3 separate regions of the Homo sapiens genome follow, and all the other regions are linked to region 2. Evidence: promoter capture Hi-C in 16 types of primary human blood cells and fetal thymus (Javierre and others, 2016). All regions are on one chromosome and are shown on one strand. Each heading gives the region's core, a stretch centred on a gene start or on the middle of the fragment in contact. The rest is flanking DNA. Distances are from core to core; before and after follow the strand shown.

What was found. The method cuts DNA at HindIII sites, captures the fragments that hold promoters and counts their contacts. A CHiCAGO score of 5 or more calls a contact.
Region 1: a fragment that was not itself captured here is called in contact with the fragment with the promoter of EFHC1 in region 2 in 2 of 17 cell types (fetal thymus and non-activated CD4 T cells); the score reaches 5.9 in fetal thymus.
Region 3: a fragment that was not itself captured here is called in contact with the fragment with the promoter of EFHC1 in region 2 in 1 of 17 cell types (non-activated CD4 T cells); the score reaches 7.0 in non-activated CD4 T cells.

What each region holds. Positions count from the first base shown.
Region 1 is chr6:53,483,021-53,486,202 of GRCh38, forward strand. The region is part of intron 3 of GCLC-AS1 (GCLC antisense RNA 1); the gene reads left to right. Among named protein-coding and RNA genes, the nearest start is that of GCLC-AS1, 53 kb to the left of the region's middle. The HindIII fragment of the contact is 811 bases long and covers 1,451-2,261 here.
Region 2 is chr6:52,418,400-52,421,761 of GRCh38, forward strand. It overlaps EFHC1 (EF-hand domain containing 1), which reads left to right and starts at 1,943. Exons shown (of 11, transcript NM_018100.4): 1 at 1,943-2,074. The coding sequence starts at 2,012. LOC124901331 (a long non-coding RNA gene) reads right to left here and starts at 2,582. Exons shown (of 2, transcript XR_007059611.1): 1 at 1,810-2,582; 2 at 1-49. RefSeq lists an enhancer at 1,912-2,503. The HindIII fragment of the contact is 6,560 bases long and covers 1-3,362 here.
Region 3 is chr6:53,643,393-53,646,396 of GRCh38, forward strand. No RefSeq gene overlaps it. Among named protein-coding and RNA genes, the nearest start is that of LINC01564, 17 kb to the left of the region's middle. RefSeq lists an enhancer at 79-373. The HindIII fragment of the contact is 4,292 bases long and covers 1-3,004 here.

The DNA.
Region 1 (3,182 bases), core at 606-3,105, 1.1 Mb after region 2:
CCAATCTAAGAAAAGACATTTCTCCGATGGTGCCTGAAGTTCGATGCATAGAGGTTTTTCTTTCTGTTACCCTCACTAAGTTCTTTGAAAATGCCTACAGAAGGGGTGTTCATATCAGGCCCTTGTGCTTCACGAGAATAAGTTGATCGGGTAAAAATTTTCTCCATAAGAGAGACCACTATTGGGAGGGGGCAGCTGCCCAGTTAGGAGGGTTAGACTTGTCCTGCACCAATATTGTCAAGCAAGTGGGCTCAAGGGTCCCTCTGGACTCTCCTACTTAACCTTCACTATTGGCTTAAATATAGGAGTGACCATCCCCTCTCCAGAAACTGGCCTCAGTCCTGTAGCTTATTTCTTGGGATCAGTGACCCACCTCCACTTTCCACCACCTCCAGAGGCTCGAGAGAACCTGTCCCTGTCTAAACAGCCATTATTAAATGTGACTGTATTTTTTTCTCTATAGGAATGATGTATTTTCTATTTAAAAAAAAAAAAAAAAAACTCCCACAATCTTTGTGTGACTTGCATTTGAGAGCGGCCAAAGGACCTACTTGCAAAGCAGTGCAGAGGCTGACATTTACTGATAATCTGCCATGCACGAGGCACCCGGCCAGAGGGACGCTTCCTGTTCAAAATGACTGTTAGGCAGATGCTATCATTTCCATGTTACTGAGAACAAAGTTGAATCTCTGAGAGAGAAAAAAAGGAACATTCACAGGGTCACAAAGGTGGGTTGAATTCCAGAGACCCTGTTCTCTCTACAGCAAGGAAAATTACCCATACCCAGGAGAGCAGGGAAATGTCATAAATTCTTTGTATGCCCTCACTGCACTTTGCACAGGGCTTGGAGTCTTTGATGGAGAATGCATGTAACATAACCCACTGAAATTAAGCTTAAACAAAAATGATACTTTGCTGGGAGGGATCCTGGTCACCCCCTAAAATCCGAGGAAAGTTGAACAACCAGGCCTCAGTACCAAGAGTTCTTGGGTTTTATATCTGTCTAATGCTACACCCGCAACTGGACTAAATAACCTGCATCTCTGTCTCTTAGTCAGAGTTCTCAAGAGAGAGACCCTAATTGGCTCCTGGTCAGCCAATGAACTTCCTCCTCCTGAGTCAGGTGTTCACTTCTAGTCCAATCAGCTATGACCAAGAGTCAAGCAAAAGCAAAACTTCCGGGGGCTAATTCTGAAGTCTGCCCAATGGTGTCTACTGTACCCAGATATAATTCAATACATGTTTATTGTCTGGTGTTTTTTGTGTTCATTCGTTGCAACCAAGTTCTTTAAGAACCTTGGATACATCGTCCTTCATTTAATCATCAGGCGGGGGTTGATAGGCCATAGTGATCAAGAAAAATATGTGAAATTTCTATATGCCAGTTATCGCTGTGTTAAAAACCTTCAGAGCAAATTAAGAAAGGAGAAATAAACTATTTGTTCTCAAAAGCTTGGTTTCAAGGGGACCGAGGAAATGGGAAAAGCATCTGTGGACAAGGCTATTGTGCTTGCTGCTGGAAGACTACCAAGGCCAGTTACTAAACGGGTGGGCAGCAACAAGTAGTTGCTTTGTTTTTTTTTCCCCCATAGGAAGTTGTTGTCTCTGTTTTGCAAGTTTGTCAAATTTCTTTTGTTTCTGGGGTCAATAACCTAGATACTTGAGACTCTTTTTTTCCCCTTCCGAGGGTCCTAATTTTGCATTTTACGTAACACCAATCTTGACCAAAAGCTGATTTATTAAGGAGGTTTCTTCTGGGTTAGTTGTTGGTGCTGGAGGCTGCGTGTACATGACTTAGTCTTCTACTGCCACCATGAGGGAGATGCTGGAATTGCAAGGCTCTTTTAGTTATCAAATGTAAATTTTCATAAATGAAAGTGAGCACGTTTAAAATTATCTCTATCTATTTATCTATCTATCTGTCTGTCTATCATGTTCATATATATATAAAATGGAACAATCCACCTCCTAAAACATATCCTCTGAAAGGCTTAAAGAGATATATAGTATTGCCAAGTGTGTCTGAGTTAGGTAGGCGAGGGTTTGAGACCTGCCTCTGCCTACCACTACAACCGCCCTTACACTAGACATTTAAGTCTTCTAAGCCACAGGTGTAAAAATGGTCTGATAGTACCCATTTCACAGGGCTTGGTATTGAAAAAATGACATAGCCTGTGTCAGTCTCTAGCATTTGGTAAGTACTCAATAAATGATTACCATTGCTATCACCTGAAATTGACCACGGCTGAAAGTATTAGAAAAGCTTTCTGCAGGGAGAAAGAGGGGTGAGGGTGGAGGGTACCAGTAACCCCGTGAAAACAAACACCAGTGCACAACTGGAGTGGATGCTCAATAAACATATGAAAGGTTCAGGGGAAAGGGGTAAAGTCACCAGGGATGGCTCTAACAGCCAAAAGAGGGATGGAAAACACTCTTTTAAGCTGACCATTTTAGAGTCAAAGAACCAAAAATATAGAATGTTCGTGTGGTAAGGATTCTAGATATGTACTCCAGCTTTTTTTTTTTTTCAAGTGGGGCAACCGAGTGATTGAATCACTCTTCAAGTTAAAATGTTAATCAGCAGTAAAGTGGGACTAGAACCCAAGACTTTTGTTTTCTTTTCTTTTCTTTTTTTTTTTTTTTTGAGACAGGATCTAACTCTATTGCCCGGGCTGGAGTGCGATGGCACATTTGTAGCTCACTGTAACCTTGAAGCCCTGGGTTCAAACAATCCTTCCGCCTCAGCCTCCTGAGTAGCTGGGACTACACTCACACACCACTGTGCCCAGCTAATTTTTATTTTTTTGGGCAGAGACAGGAATCTCACTATATTGCCCAAGCTGGTCTGAAACTTCTGGCTTCAAGTGATCCTCCCGCCTTGGTCTCCTAAGGTGCTGGGATTACAGGCATGAGCCACTGTGCCCACCCCCTCAAGACTTTTGACAAATAATCCAGAGCTCTTTATATATAAGCACCAAAATATCAGTCAAGATTAGCCAAATCAGGATTGTCTTGGATTGAAAAAAAAAATGGGCAAGTTGCTTAACCTGATTATGCTTTAGTTTCATTACTGGCAAAATGGCAATCATAATATCCTACTGCAGGGGTTCTAGTAAAGACTGAGATGCCACATGGAAAGCATTTAGATTTGTGCAATAAATGTCCACTGGTATGATTATATG
Region 2 (3,362 bases), core at 693-3,192:
CCATCTTGACATATTCCTCCAGTGACTGGCATCCATCCTCAGTTGGTGTCTAAGGTATAATACAACGGACAGGTACTTTAAAAGTTTTCAGTAACTTCCACAATGCTAACCAATGTTTGAGGAATATGATTACATTTATTTTTTTAAAAAATAAGCAAGTTTTGTAAAAAGCACCAAAGGCAAAAAAACTTCATTGAAGTTTTTAAAAAATGTATTAAACTGCTGCATTAAGGTAATGTACTTACAGAAAAAGAAAAAGAGGTTTAAAAAAGGACAAGAACAGGAAACAGATGTAGTAAGGGGAGAAGAGTTAGAAAGGAAACTCTCTGGGCAGGGTATGGTAAGCAGGCATCAATAACTGCCTCAGGTGCCACTTAATGCATTCATGTCCTGGGCCTCCTGAGCGTCACACAAATTAGTGAAACCCAACAGGGGGATTTGCTCTGACAAGCAGCAATAAAAGTAAAGCTGCTGTCTGTATTGGCAGTAAACTACCTGTGACACTGAGATATGCCTTCTGTGTCTGGCTTATTACTCTATCATGTTCCTAAACTGGCTTGTCACAAACGCCTGTTACAAAAATCAGATTCCTGGCCTCCATGTCAGACCTAATGAATCCAAATCTCTCGGCACGTGGGTTTTGATTACTTTTTATTTTTAAGCTCCTCAGCAATGATGGATAGCTTTCTCCCCCCCCCCCCAAAAAAAATGTTTCAGGAATAGGATTATGTTTCTTTTAAGAAAAAATAATTTAAGCAAGTTTTGTAAAAAGCATCAAAGGCTATACCTATGATGCTGACAATATTTCACCTCACTTATCTGCTTCTTTCCCAAGACTTAGTCTTTCTCTTTGAAGGAGCTGTGTTCCTCCTAGTGGTTCTGATCTTTTTCATTGCAGCTGCAGGTACAAACGAGGGATTGAGGTGACCACCCTTCAACCTGCAGCTCTTCAGTCAACAAAAATCAAGTACCTATCAGAGTGCACCCTGCCCTGCAGCACATATTCAAGGCTTTCCCTACAAAAACAAAGGTGTTTAACCGAAGGGATTGATGGTAGAATAAAGAGAGCTGGGCGCGGTGGCTCATGCCTGTAATCCCAGCACTTTGGGAGGCGAGGTGGGCGGATCGCTTGACCCCAGGAATTCGAGACCAGCTTGGGCAACATAGTGGGACACTATCTCTACGGAAGGAGGGAAGTAGGGAAGGAAGGAAGGAAGCAAGGAGGGAAGGAGGGACGGAGGGAAGGAGGGAAGGAAGGAAGGAAAAAGAAAAGAAAGGAAAGAAAGAAAGGAAAGAAAGAAAGAGAAAGATTGATTTTAAAAAAGAGTTAAAAGGGGAAAAATACAATGTGGCAGTGGGAGAATTAAGGATGAGATGATTGCATTAGTTCATTGACCATCCCTGAGCAACAGAAACACAATCATGGGTAATCCTCGGCCCCTGCCTACAAGAAGCATGGGTCTAGTTTAGTAGCACTGCCAACTGGACCGACCATTTACACTTCTGTGTGAAATGGGGCAGAGGGGGGAGAAAAGAGTGCCTGAGCTCACAGCGTTGGCGGGGCGCAGTGAGGTCCGCCAGGACTAGGTGGAAGGAGAGAAGGAACGTCCCTCTCTGCAACTCATCTAAGGGCCTGCTCGGACCCCGGATCTCACAGCGAGAACTACCGCCTCGCTACACCCGCCTTTCCCCGCGCCACCCAACAGCTCCCACGTCTCATCCTCCGGGAGCGGGGCGGGGCGAAGCGGAAGAGGAGGGGCCGACACAACCACGCCCACTAGCCGCGCTCCAAGGCCGCGGCCCACTTACCGCGAGAACGCGGAGTCCTGCGGATGGCGCACGCGCAAACCTCCTGTGATGCCTGCGCCTCCTGGCCCCGCCTTCCGCTCGTGGGAGTTCCGGATGTTTAGCGTTACCATGGATCCTGGAGGTGCCCGCGAACACTGCTTGTCGCCTGGGCAACCGGAGAGGACGAAGCAGGACCTAGGTGGCGGCGGTGGTACCGGCTGCAATGGTGTCCAATCCCGTGCATGGCTTGCCCTTTCTTCCGGGCACGTCCTTTAAGGACTCTACGGTGAGCAGTTATCTGCCAGACTCCCACCTGTCCCCACCTTCCAGCAGCCCAGGAGGTTTCCCCGCTCAGTGCACCTCCATTCCCCTCCACTCAAGTCTGTCTTCTCTCCAAACACGTCTTCTGTCCTGACCCTGTTCTTTATTCTGGGCCGAACTTCTGCCGTTCTTCCCTAGCCATCCTCATCCCCTCTCTCCGATCCTTTGCCCTCCGCCTCATCCCTCTCTAGTTTTTTCCCACTCCATCTTGGCAGTGTGTTGGCGCCTTCATTCTCATCCCGTTAGCCGCGTTCTTTCTTACGGCCCTGCTCCTCCAAGCCCCTGCCTCTTGTCCCTTTAGATCACTGTTTCCCCCACCCTACTCCCAACCTATCTCTGGGCCCTCTCCCTAGCTCGTTCTCTCACATCATAACCTGTCTCCGTCCATCGCCGCCCTTAAAACCCCCCGCCACTATGCACCTTCAACCTCATTCCCACAGGTCCGTCATTCCCGCCCCACCTCTTCCTCTTCTGAATCCTGTACCCGGTAGTATCTCCCACTCCCAGCTCCATTTCCTGTTTTGTATGTATATCGATTCCGCTCCTCTTCTTTCCGCCAGGTCTTTTTCCTTTCTTCTTTATGCTTGCATCCAACCCCATTCTTTTTTCTCCATCTTCTACATTTTCCACAATTTAGTCCCATCCTCTCCCCATTCCTTTCTTTCTCCGTTGCGGGTTTTCCCCAAAACTTGCTCACCTTCCTCCCAAAGCATCTTTCCCTGCTTTGTAAGAGATATTCCTTTCCAGTTCCCTCAAGAATTGATTAGTTGCTGTTTATTCTTCCCCGGCCCTGTTCTTTTTATTCTAACGTTTTTGTAAAAAGATTCCTGTTTAGATTTTGTTTTGCTCCTTCCCCAACCTTGTGTTTTTATTTGCATTTTCTAGACAAAATTTTTTAAAAAGTAGCAGCAGCTTGGATTCTTTTTTTTTTTTAAACTCTTGCCACAGTTTAGCTCTTAAAATTATTTGGTTTGTTTTAATTCTGACAGGGCTACTGAAATGTATGTGCTGAAAAATCAATAATGAGATTCAGTAGACTGATCATCATAGATGAGCTAACAGTAGTTTATGTTTATATAGTTTAATACTTTAAACTCTTGCCTTCCTCTCCAGCTTCACAAAGTTAAAATATTTTGTCAATTTATTTTCTTTGGAAGAATCAATTTAGAATGAAATCGAAAGTTTGGTGAGAGAATTTGTATTCTGAATCTCTGTAATTATCCCTGCATTAAGACACAACATCATAGATTTTT
Region 3 (3,004 bases), core at 449-2,948, 1.2 Mb after region 2:
GCAGATACTAGAATCTCTGGGAAGTCTAAAAAGAGTAGAGTGCTCTCTCTAGCATTCAGACACTAGCAGAGCACGGCACAGATACTCAGGACTGCTGATTTTTGAGGCAGTCAGCAAGCTCTCCACGGTTTTAATGAGTACTGCAGCTCTGCCCCTGGTTGCCTGTATTCTGTGAGCCACAGCCAACCACACTGAACCTTGCTGAGTGTTCTGTCTTTGACCCAAACATGTGACTAAGCAAAAGGCATCAGTGGGGCTGGGAGAGGGGGAGGCCAGGCTTTATAAAGTAGTGCTCTGTAACTTTGCTCTACCCACTGCACAAATGGAAAGAGATAATGTTTGTACAATGCATTAGGGAAAAATGGAAAAGGCCGGCCACAGCCAGAGGAACCAGCCTGTGAGCTCTGGCCACTCTAGGCCCTATTTGGCCCTACATTAAACCTGGGAGACATCAAAGCAGTGCTGTGTAATACCTGTTCTCTGCATAGCGCATGTCAGGGAGTGACAGTGGCACATGCTGCAGCGGAGGACCCATGTGCCTAAAGCCCTGGGCAAGGTCATTCTTCCCTTGATTTAAAGTTTTCTTCTGCAGCCTGGAACCCTGATCTTCCTGCAGAGGTCACAGGGCTCTCCTTCCCCTCAAGACTCCCTCTTTCTTTTGTATTTGGTCAGTGCCGGCAGGCAGGGGCAGAGGACTGGATGGCTTCATCAAAGGCACTAATTTATCAAGTGGGATTTTAATTTAAGAATTCAGGGGGAATGATGGAAATTGGCAATGCCTTAACATTTCATGGATTTTCGGTGGAGCTAGTTTGTCCCTGTTCAAAACAAGCAGTCCCACATGGGGAGGCTCCCCTCCAATAGTAACTCTTTCCGTTTGTCCATTTGTGGCCCTGCCATCTCCAGCAGGCTCCCAAAGCTGTCCCAGGATCAGTCTCCATTACACCTCACCATCTTCAGAAATGTGGCTCTGTGGAGTGCCTCCAAAGCAGGAGCCGGTCCTTCTTTCAGCTGAATTTGCCACCCCTTATTTCTTTATGCAATATCTCACTCTCCTTGATATGGCTTGGTTATGTCCTCACCCAAATCTCATCTTGAATTGTAGTTCCCATAATCCCCGGGGGAAGGATCCGGTGGGAGGTAGTTGAATGATGGGGGCAGTTCTGGTGATAGTGAGTGAGTTCTCACGAGATCTGATGGTTTTATAAGGGGCTTTTCCCCCTTTTGCTCAGCACTTCTTGTTGCTGCCGCCATGTGAAGAAGGATGTACTTGCTTCCCCTTCAGCCATGGTTGTAAGTTTCCTGAGGCCTCCCCAGCCATGCTGAACTGTGTGAGTCAATTAAACCTCTTTCCTTTATAAACTACTCAGTCCCAGTTATGTCTTTATTAGCAGCATGAGAATGGACTACTGCGCTCCAAGTGTCTCTGGAAGACTCAGGCCCAGAGATTCACTGTCCATCTCCAAGGACTCTGCATTGAGTGACTTGTCCTCAGTATTTTTACCCATGAGGGAAATGAAACACCTTCAATGGAGACTGGTCTGGGGTTCCGAAGGGCACCAGGGATTGGGCTGCAAGGGTTCTGCTTCCAGGAGTCCCTGTTTATCTCTCATTTTTGAGTCAGAAAAAGGCCCCTGGGTATCTGTGTGTAGGCTCTACCTTCTCAGGTTTCCCCGTGTCTCTGAAAACATGGCTGCCCATGAGAAGTATTTAAAGAAATGAACTTTACCTATTAACTTATTTAGCTCTCATATGAGACAAGGTGATGTAATCATAATGGCTCTTAATTTCAGAATGCAAGCATAAGACCATATATTTTACACACACACACACACACGCAGAATATATGTATATATGCACACACTCACACTTAAATGATGTGTGTGTGTGTGTGTACTTAGTAAGCACTGAATAAATGCTTACTAGCTAAATGATGAAGCTAGTCCTAACCTGTTTTTGAAGAATTGGCAATTATAGAGAAGATGCATGCAATTTAAAAAATTTTAATGGGGACATAGCTATAGAGATATCAATCTTTTGAGTTTTTTTTTTTTGAGAAATGGAAAGTGTTGGTTGCATAACTCCTTCCACCTGTAATGTGTCTTAACAATTTAATTTTTGGCTTGCAGCAAGTTTGGAAAAGTCCTAGTTATCATGGTTGTGTACTTTAATGTGCTTCCCTCTAGTGATTACTGGGGTAAGGGAAAGTGTTTTGCATGCAGTAGATGCTTAATAAGTATTTGCTGATTAAATAAATGAGTAATATTGGAATAGAGATCAGCAAGCAGTAGGTCATGATGGTTTTATTGTTTCATTCACTCATTCACTTATTTACTTCACACACAAAAAATTGATCTCCTGCTATACACCAGGCATGACTCTAGACACCGGAGGTACATCTGTGAACGAGACAAAATTTTCACCTTTAAGGATGATATTCTAAAAGAGATGGCAGAACATAAATCAACAGGAAAATATCCAGAGATGGTAAGCTATGATGGCACGTAAGCATGGCGAGATTTGAACAAGGGAGGAAAGGCCACTGGGCTGGAGTTGTTGAAAGTTACAGCCTAGGCCAGAAGCACAGTGCTGAAGCCTGAAGAGGGCAGAAAAAAATATCCCAACCACTTGCTTCTGCCCTCTGACCTCCTTCTGATACCTCCCGTTGGATGAATAAAATGTTCAGCCAAAGAGCCTGAGTCTGGATGATGTAGTCCCTAGGGGACGGAGCACAGAGCAGGGCAGAGAAAGACAGAATATGATCAGGGGCATGAGGCTGGGAAATAATTATGTCTAATGAACATTTGTTAAACAACAAAGGATTCTTTTGGCATACAGAATTTTCTTTGCTACTTATATGCAGAATTGTAATGAAATAAAGCATTTTTCAGTTTGGAACTCTGCAAAAAATGGAAACGTTTCATTAATATTGCAGAATAAAACTTGAGAGACAGATTACCACCATTTAGCTTCCTTCCCCCTCTTCCTTTCAGGAATACTCTTC